3 separate regions of the Homo sapiens genome follow, and regions 2 and 3 are each linked to region 1. Evidence: promoter capture Hi-C in human tissues and cell types (Jung and others, 2019). All regions are on one chromosome and are shown on one strand. The core of a region is centred on a gene start or on the middle of the fragment in contact, and the rest is flanking DNA. Distances in the headings are between cores, read along the strand shown. Region 1 holds the start of LRP12 (LDL receptor related protein 12). Region 2 overlaps ZFPM2 (zinc finger protein, FOG family member 2). Region 3 overlaps ZFPM2 (zinc finger protein, FOG family member 2).

Region 1 (2,741 bases), core at 172-2,671:
GCGCTCTGTAAAATGCACCAATCAGCACTCTGTAAAACGCACCAATCAGCAGGATTCCAAAAGTAGCCAATCGCAGGGAGGATTGAAAGAGGGGCACTCCGATAGGACAGAAATGGAACATGGGAGGGGACCACAAGGGAATAAAAGCTGGCCACCACCAGCCAGCACCTGGGGTTCTCTTCCATGCTGTGGAAGCTGTCCTTTTGCTCTTCGCAATAAACCTTGCTACCGCTCACTCTTTGAGTCCGTGCCATCTTTAAGAGCTGTTAACAGTCACCGGGAAGGTCTGCAGCTTCATTCTTGAAGTCAGGGAGACCACGAACCCCCTGGCAGGCACCAACTCCGACACATTACTAGGCGCTAAGCATTGTGCTAGAGAGTTTGCTGTGGTATAGGGGCAACAATCTTTACTTTGGAATGAGAAAAACTGTTTCAAACAACTTACTTGCCATGAGTAATTTAATTTCTCTCTTTTCTATAAAACATGGGTAATATTTATCTCACAAGGATGTTTGGGATTAAAAAGTGACAACCTATGTCAATAGGACAGCATGATGCAGTGTAGGTCTTCAATGAATAGCATGGAGAGTGCTTGCAAAGGGCAACGATAAAATCTAATATAAATAAGACGTTGTAGACAAACGCTTTAAAAACACAGGGGGTAAGGTCTGATGTGCCAGCGTCACTACAGACGTACTTAGAAAAGTGTTCTGGGGATCTAAGTAAAGGAGGACTCCCATTTGCTGGGAGTGAGAAAAGAGCTTTAGGGAAACTGCAGCGTGATGGGCGAATCCTCCTTTCAATATATCTACCCTGAAAGTCGGCTCCAGCCCTGCCGAACATCCTGGCCCAGCTGCACCCGACCCAGCGTGAGATGTCAAATGACCTCTTGGCGCTTCCACGCCAGACTGGAGGGGCTCTGCACAAGCCTTGCCCGACTCATTCCGGGCACCTTGAGCGTGGGAGTCCACACTGCCCCTTGACCGACCAGCTGCCAGGTTGGCCGCACTAACTTGAGCCCACCCCCACTCGAAGCTCCGCGCCGACAGCAAGTGGAGACTTGGGGGTACCGGATAGAGGAAGGAACTCCCAAGTTGTCAGCTTCAGACCATCCACGCCTCCCCCAACACGGAACCACCTTCAGCCTCCCAGCTGGTATCCCACCCCCCCTCCCCCCACCCGCTGGGCCAGAGCCCAGCCCTCGGACAGCGACCGTGCTCCTCCACACACCCCGCGCTCCAGCCCCTGGGCATCCAGCAGCCGGCGTTCGCACGCTCTGTCATCGATTGGCGCTGCCTTGCTCCTTGGGCTCCCGTCGCGTGGAAATCGGCCCGAAACTTGGAAAGTCCAGCGGAGCGCGGGGAGGGAACCGAGGCAGGCGGGCCAGGGGATTGCCGATCGCACGGATGGGCGCGCGCTCAGTCTGGCGAGTGGCGGCGCCGGCTAGCCCGAGCGGCGCGAGGCCGGAGTCCGGCGTCCGCCACCCTCTCGTCTCGCGCTGGCGCGCGAGCTCCTTGCCCTTGCCCCCAGGAGGGCCGCCCCGCGTGGGGCTCTCGCACCGCCCGGGGTGGGAGCAGGCGAGCCGGAGGGAGGAGGGAGGAGGGAGCGCGCGCGGGCGGCGGCGGCCCCTCCCTTCCCCCTCCCGCAGCCGCGGAGAGCGCAGGGAGCAGCCGGTGGCTCGGCGGCGGCGGCGGCGGCGGCGGCGGCGTCGGCGTCGTCTACCTCCAGCTTCTCCTCCCTCCTCCTCCGTCTCCTCCTCTCTCTCTCCATCTGCTGTGGTTATGGCCTGTCGCTGGAGCACAAAAGAGTCTCCGCGGTGGAGGTCTGCGTTGCTCTTGCTTTTCCTCGCTGGGGTGTACGGTAAGTGTCCGCGTCCCCGCGCCCCGCTGACCGAACAAAGCTGAGGCGACCCGGGCCCCGAGGCCTCCAGGACGGGGGTTCCCCTGGAGACTCCCGCGGAGACCCTGGCTACCGGCGGGACAAAGACCGGTGAGGGGGTGGATGTGGCGGAACGGGTGTCCCCACACGGAGATGCTTTTCTCCACTCGTCCACCTCCAGACCCTCGGGTGGTGGAGAGGGGCTGGGGGGCCCGGCCGGGAGGGCCCCGGCGGAGCGAGGGGGTGGCGGGCGGACTTCCCGACCTGGGTTCGAGGGCCCCCGCGGCCAGTTGCTCCAGGACCCGTAGCCTGGCACAATCCACACACAAAGATGCTTGACTGTGAGAAAGCAGAGGAGCTCGCCCCCGCCGCTGCCGGGACGGTCCTTCCCCCCGCCCCCTCAACCCGGGGTTAGGAAGTTCTCTCACCGGCGAGATTCCCACCGCGCCAGCCCTTGTCCTACTCGATTCCCTGAAAAGGCTTCCCGCTGACTTCTCCCCACTCCACCTCGGGGGCAAGGGCTCTGCCGAATCCGGGCGTGCAGGGTCCTGTTGGTTCCCCGGGAGCAGCACGCGGGAGAAGGCCAGAAAATAGTTTCCAGCCCCACCTCAGTCTCTCCTGTTAGGGTGTACACATCTGTCCTGACTCCTAGTTCAATTGTAATTTCATCCATCCTCGTCCGCCGCTGTGGTCACTGTTACTTTATTCCAGTCGATGGATCGGGTTAGAGATAACTCCTTTCGGGTTAAGAGAAGGCTGAAGACTGTGCGGACAGCTTTATATTGCGTTGGGGTCTGAGCAAGAGCTGAATGGAATTAATTGCAAAGAACATCTATCTCTTAAGATAATTAAGTTACACTTCT
Region 2 (2,741 bases), core at 94-2,593, 1.1 Mb before region 1:
TGCAGGGCTATTTACCAACATTTCATTAAGGAAACTCACAGTGATGCTGATATAAAAACAAATGTATTTTTCACATCATATAGCATATAGTAGTAATAACTAAAGACAATAAACTATTCAGTACACCCAGACTCAGATTGAAATAACATCAATAAATCACTAACATAACAGTAAAAACAGTAAATGCATAGTAAGAAATGGAAATGACACAAGGCTCACTATTTGCAGAAGTTGCTGCCATTCTGCAATTTGCAACAGACAGCTCTATTTTAAATAACACAGTCACTAGTGGGGTCACTTGTCTTGACCTTAAGAACCCCTTAGAAATGACAATTTGAATCAAAACTGTGGTTTTTAAAAAGCAGCCATTTTTACAATCATAGATTCCTAGGAAAGGAATAATAAATTGCTCACTCCTCAAAATATTAATAGAACGTAACCAGAAAAAGCCTCAGATGTTCATGAAACATGGGTTTTCGGCATCGCGTTATCCTGTGGTGCTCTGCAATCAATTACTGTTATACCACCATCATTAATAATTTTCTTAATGAAAATGATTCTGTTGATCTCCGTAGTATTTTAATTATCAGAGTTAAGCATAATTACACTGCAGCTCTGAGCTGGCATGTGGACTCCTTTAGGGCGCAATTTTGTTTTAACACACTGATAATGTAATTTTACATTGTGTCAGTTTGTTTGGTTATTATCCAGTTGTACAATTCCACTGTATTCCTGATAACAGATAATAACCTTAGTACCTCCTATATCCTGAAGTCATTTAAAAAGCAATATTGGAATTCTGCGACTAGCTAACTTAATCGCCTTATGATTTTATAATTCCCACTGCTAAATATTTAGTTCGGGCACTCACCCTCTTTCAAGAATACTGTAAAATTAGACAATGGTTATACATTTTCTATGAATTACTGAATAGTTAAATAAATGCGTAAAATATGAACGCAAATTTTTCCTTTTAAATTAGTTTATTATTTATACAACATTATACCCTCTAGGTAAAGTTAAACATTAACTTTTGGGCTACTCTGAAAATTGGCTGCCACATTAGACAAAGCTATTGTTTGAAAATTCTAGTAACATGCAACAGATTATCTATTTTAAGGTGGAACATGGTTCGGACTTTTACAAGAATCTTTGTAATGAAAGACATTTGTTTTGAAAATTTAATTTAGAGAGTGTGCAGAAAGTTACTTACTCAAGCTAAATCATACTAGAATTTCTGTCATTATTTCAATGGTGCCTAGAATAGGCCCTTGGACATAAAGGACATTCAAAAATGGTTAAATTAACTAATTGCATGCTTAAATTCATAAGAACCTTGCAAAATCAGAACTTTGAAGGCTGTCATAGTATGATTTTGAGATTGCTGTGCAGCCGTCTACATGATTTGAAATTGCTGTGGTCTCAGAAACAACAAAGAAATTAGCATAAACTATTGCTGCCACTGCTGTTTTAGTGTTTGAATAATCTCTTTAAAGTCAAGCCAAAGAATGGGAAAAAAAATTGCTGATAAATATGTATGCAAATTTGCAAAGAAAGGCAATAACCTGTAACCTTGGCTTAGTAAATGGCATCTTCCAAAATTTTGTTGATTGTACAATTGGGAATTGAAGTCAACAAGCTTAAGATTGAATCCCAACTTCTTCATTTTAACTTACTTAACCCATCGAAACCTAAATTTATTCATCTGTAAAATGGGAAAAGCACTGTTTCGATATCATGAATTTGTATTGTAAGCAAGAAAATGTACGTAAAGTGATTAGAACAGTGTCTAGAATAGAACAAAGATTAATAAATAGTAATTGCTATTATTAGTATTAATAATATCATCATTTTCATCTTTATACTAGCATTGTATATAAGACTTTCACTAAAATAAAAGTATCACGTGCCCAAGAAAAAAATCCAATGATATGCTCCCAGACAGGCTTCAGGTCTCTAATTCTGTGACACAGATCTCTGCAAATATTCTGTGGGTTCAAAGTGACTGAATAAGACTTGTAGAAGTCTTCGCTATAAATACGATATCACTATATGCTTGATACCAACATGGAGGCCTGGCTTCATTTTCTCTCAGTGTGTACTGACTTATGACCACAAGGACTGCTTGTATGATAATCAGCAACATAATATTGATCATAACCTCTGCAATCATGTAAATGGGTGCTTCACAAAAATCCTGCATGGTAGCCATTGCTATTCCATTTTCACAGCTGAGAAAATCAAGATTAGAGTGGGCAAGTGATTTGTCTAAGGTTACACATGAAATATAGATTTTTATAATAATATTGTGGCTTCGCATATAAAGAAATATTATGTTGTTGAGGTGAGAGTGAGGGTTAGCAGATACTTTTTCACTCTCTTGATTGACAGTGTTTATTCTCTTAATCTGGAGACCTAGAGAATGTGGCTACTTTGAAATAACAACTACAAGAAAATTGAAAAACTAAATAATGTAATTATTCCCGATTTGAAGCTGAGTGATTAAACCCACATGAAAGATGCTAAAGGTGTAATTTTAAATATCCTCAAAACGTAAAATTCTAAGTACACTATTTGTTTTTCATATGAAAAGGTCACCATACTTTGCAAACGGTAGATAGCATATAAGAAGGTAAGGTAAAGAAGTAGATCATCAGTGCTCAACAGACAGTGGATTTTAGGAGTAAGTGGGCAGGCCTTTGCTCACCCTACTCTCCAGCAGAGCTCCTTTTAACTTCAGC
Region 3 (2,741 bases), core at 95-2,594, 1.0 Mb before region 1:
TTCACTCCCACAGCCTCATCTGTTCCCCACATACATTTGGCTCCGAAGAGGAACTACTCCCTCCAAACTGGCAATCATTAACTTCAACCTTTTATTTTATACAGCTCTGAAAGTCACAGGGTGTTTAAGGAGTGTTGTTTTGCTCCTGGCAGAATTTCTGGGCTTGCACCTAGTGCAATGTGCAAAAAGTGTGTCAGTGCTGAATCTCTGGGAAGAGAAAAGTAAATTGCTCTCGAGTACCCCTTCTTACGTAAGGCTGTCACATAAACCTGTGGCAGGGTTCAGGGATCCAGAGAGCTGTGGTACCAGCTGTGTGACCTGAGGCCAGTCACTTAACCTCTGAAGGTCTCAGCTTCCTTCTCTGTTAAGATGACCTCATATGTACTACAGTTTCATAACGATATTATTATAAGACTTTTTACTGTAGAATTCCCATCAAATCTCACTCAAATTCTGAGTATGGAGAAGAAAATATATAGGAAAGCTCAACACATTGAGCTTATACTTACTTAAGGAAGCTTTACTATTTGCATTGGCCAATTGCTAAATAAAGCCATTTTAACTTACTACATTTTGATATTTTAACCCTTTTAGAGAAAGTGATGTGACTAAAATAAAAACGCTAGCCTGAAGAATAAAAGGAGTATCTAACAGAGGTACATACTAACTCAACTGTGAATGCCCTGTTTAAACCACTATAAAAAAAAATACAGTGGTCAATTCTGTTCAACAGTCTGTATTTCAGAATTACCCAAAGGTATTCTGTGGAAGAGAGAAAACACTACCCTGCACAAAGTCATCTTCAGACGCTAAGATGTGTCCATCTTTCATGAATGAATCCACTGAAATATGTAATGAATCTCTCAGTCACCATTCAGGCTGACTTCTTTTTATTACTGTTTCAGCCAATCCTCTGCCAAAAAAGAGGGCAATTCTGAATCCCGATATTAATATAGTAAATTTTAAAAGCAAATATACAATTTTCTTTTAATTATATGTTGTTTTCATGATGTGTATTCTTATATCCATCTACAGACATAAACTATTAACTTGCTTATATCTCGAACTTAAAATATACCTGTTATTACAATATTTGAAGTTAATGGAAGAAGTCTATGGCAAAACTAGAAGAATGGAAATAAGAAGGGGATCCCCCTCCAAAGGGAAAAAGTGTGTGAAATTATTAAACTATATCATAGGTGCTGTGATAACTATAGTATCTTTTGGGAAGGCAGATTTTCTGAGACAAATTATTAAAAGTCAAGTTATTGAAAGTCAGGTGCAAAAAAAATAAAATCTTGGCAAAGTAGTTGGCAAAAGTGTGGAAGTGTTAGAGTAGCTGAACAAAGCTTATCTAATCTGTGAGACATTTTAGTAACAGAAATATTATAAATGTTTAAGTATCTAAAGTAAAACTTCTTCCATCAATTCAAATATTGTAATATCAGGTATATTTTCAGTTCAAAATATAAGCAAGTTAATAGTTTATGTTTATAGATGGGTATAAGAACACACATTATGAAAAGAACATGTAGTTAAAAGAAAAACTGTATATTTGGTTTTAAAATTTACTATATTAATATCAGGATTCAGAACCATAAGAGTGGTTTTCAGTTTTGTTTGTTTTATTTTGTTTTTGTTTTTTCACCAAATCAACAGATGCAGAAGGACTATACTAATTCTGCACTTTTACAGAGTAAAAGCCAAGTGCCCAAGTCACTTGTCTTCATTCTGGAGCCAGGCTGCTTCCTTGCTTTCCTTGGGAGTGACAATGAGAAAAGGACTTCAACCAAACAGATCCACTCAACATGCTCCCAACCCAAAGGACCTTTGTTCAGCATCTCTGTCAGCCTGGGGCAACTAATGGAGCATGCTAAGAAGTCAGAATCAAATGAGATAAACCTTTATTAATAGTGCCCCTGGAAAATGTCTTAAATCTTGTTGTTGCTAGTTTTCTATGGGATGCTCTTTATGAAAGGCAAGATCTCTGTGCTCATTGTAAACCTGAAATTTTATATTAAAATATTTAATTTCTTAATCAGGTAGATTTTGGAGAATATTCTCAGTCATAAGAGAAAATTACATTTTAGTAACTCCTTTCTCAATTCTCTATCCTATCACATTCTTTATAAAAATAATAGAAATACGAATAAAAGCATCAATGCGTATGTTGGAAAGGATTTGTAAATAATGCTAACATGACAAACTGATCAATTAAAAATTGCTGATTGGAAATACCAGTGAGTTAAATTCTACAATTATTTGCATGTGTGTTACACTGAAGTTTGGGCCAAGTTGTTTTATTTATTTATTTATTTTTGCCAGATAAATAATTCTTTTTGTTTTTTTTCTAGATAAATAATATAACCTTATATATAAAATAATTCCAATTAGTAATAACTAATCAGCATTACTTTTGGATTTCTCTATATTGTTTCTATTTTGAAAGTGTTATTTAGGTTATTCTGCTTTTAAAATAATCATTTTACAGGGATGCCCTCTTTCATGTGGTGCAGCACACCGACATGGCACATGTATACCTATGTAACAAACCTGCACATTGTGCACATGCACCCTAGAACTTAAAGTATAATAATAAAAACTAATAATAAAATAATCGTTTTACAATTTTAAAGAAATTAAGGATATTCATTATTCATTCAATAATATTTATAGGTTATCTACTATGTAGAATACTCAAGGATAGAGAGATGAAATATGAGTTACATTTCTTCAAGATG

What was found. Contacts are between HindIII fragments. The study calls those that stand out against the background at their distance.
Region 2: a contact is called between a fragment that was not itself captured here and the fragment with the promoter of LRP12 in region 1, in 1 of the 25 tissues and cell types used here (lymphoblastoid cells).
Region 3: a contact is called between a fragment that was not itself captured here and the fragment with the promoter of LRP12 in region 1, in 1 of the 25 tissues and cell types used here (hippocampus).

What each region holds. Positions count from the first base shown.
Region 1 is chr8:104,587,938-104,590,678 of GRCh38, reverse strand. LRP12 (LDL receptor related protein 12) reads left to right here and starts at 1,421. Exons shown (of 7, transcript NM_013437.5): 1 at 1,421-1,860. The coding sequence starts at 1,782. RefSeq lists silencers at 1,383-1,722, 2,153-2,262. The HindIII fragment of the contact is 16,882 bases long and covers 1-2,741 here.
Region 2 is chr8:105,639,083-105,641,823 of GRCh38, reverse strand. All of the region lies in intron 5 of ZFPM2 (zinc finger protein, FOG family member 2), which reads right to left. Among named protein-coding and RNA genes, the nearest start is that of ZFPM2, 320 kb to the right of the region's middle. The HindIII fragment of the contact is 3,692 bases long and covers 1-2,741 here.
Region 3 is chr8:105,621,715-105,624,455 of GRCh38, reverse strand. All of the region lies in intron 4 of ZFPM2 (zinc finger protein, FOG family member 2), which reads right to left. Among named protein-coding and RNA genes, the nearest start is that of ZFPM2, 300 kb to the right of the region's middle. The HindIII fragment of the contact is 3,807 bases long and covers 1-2,741 here.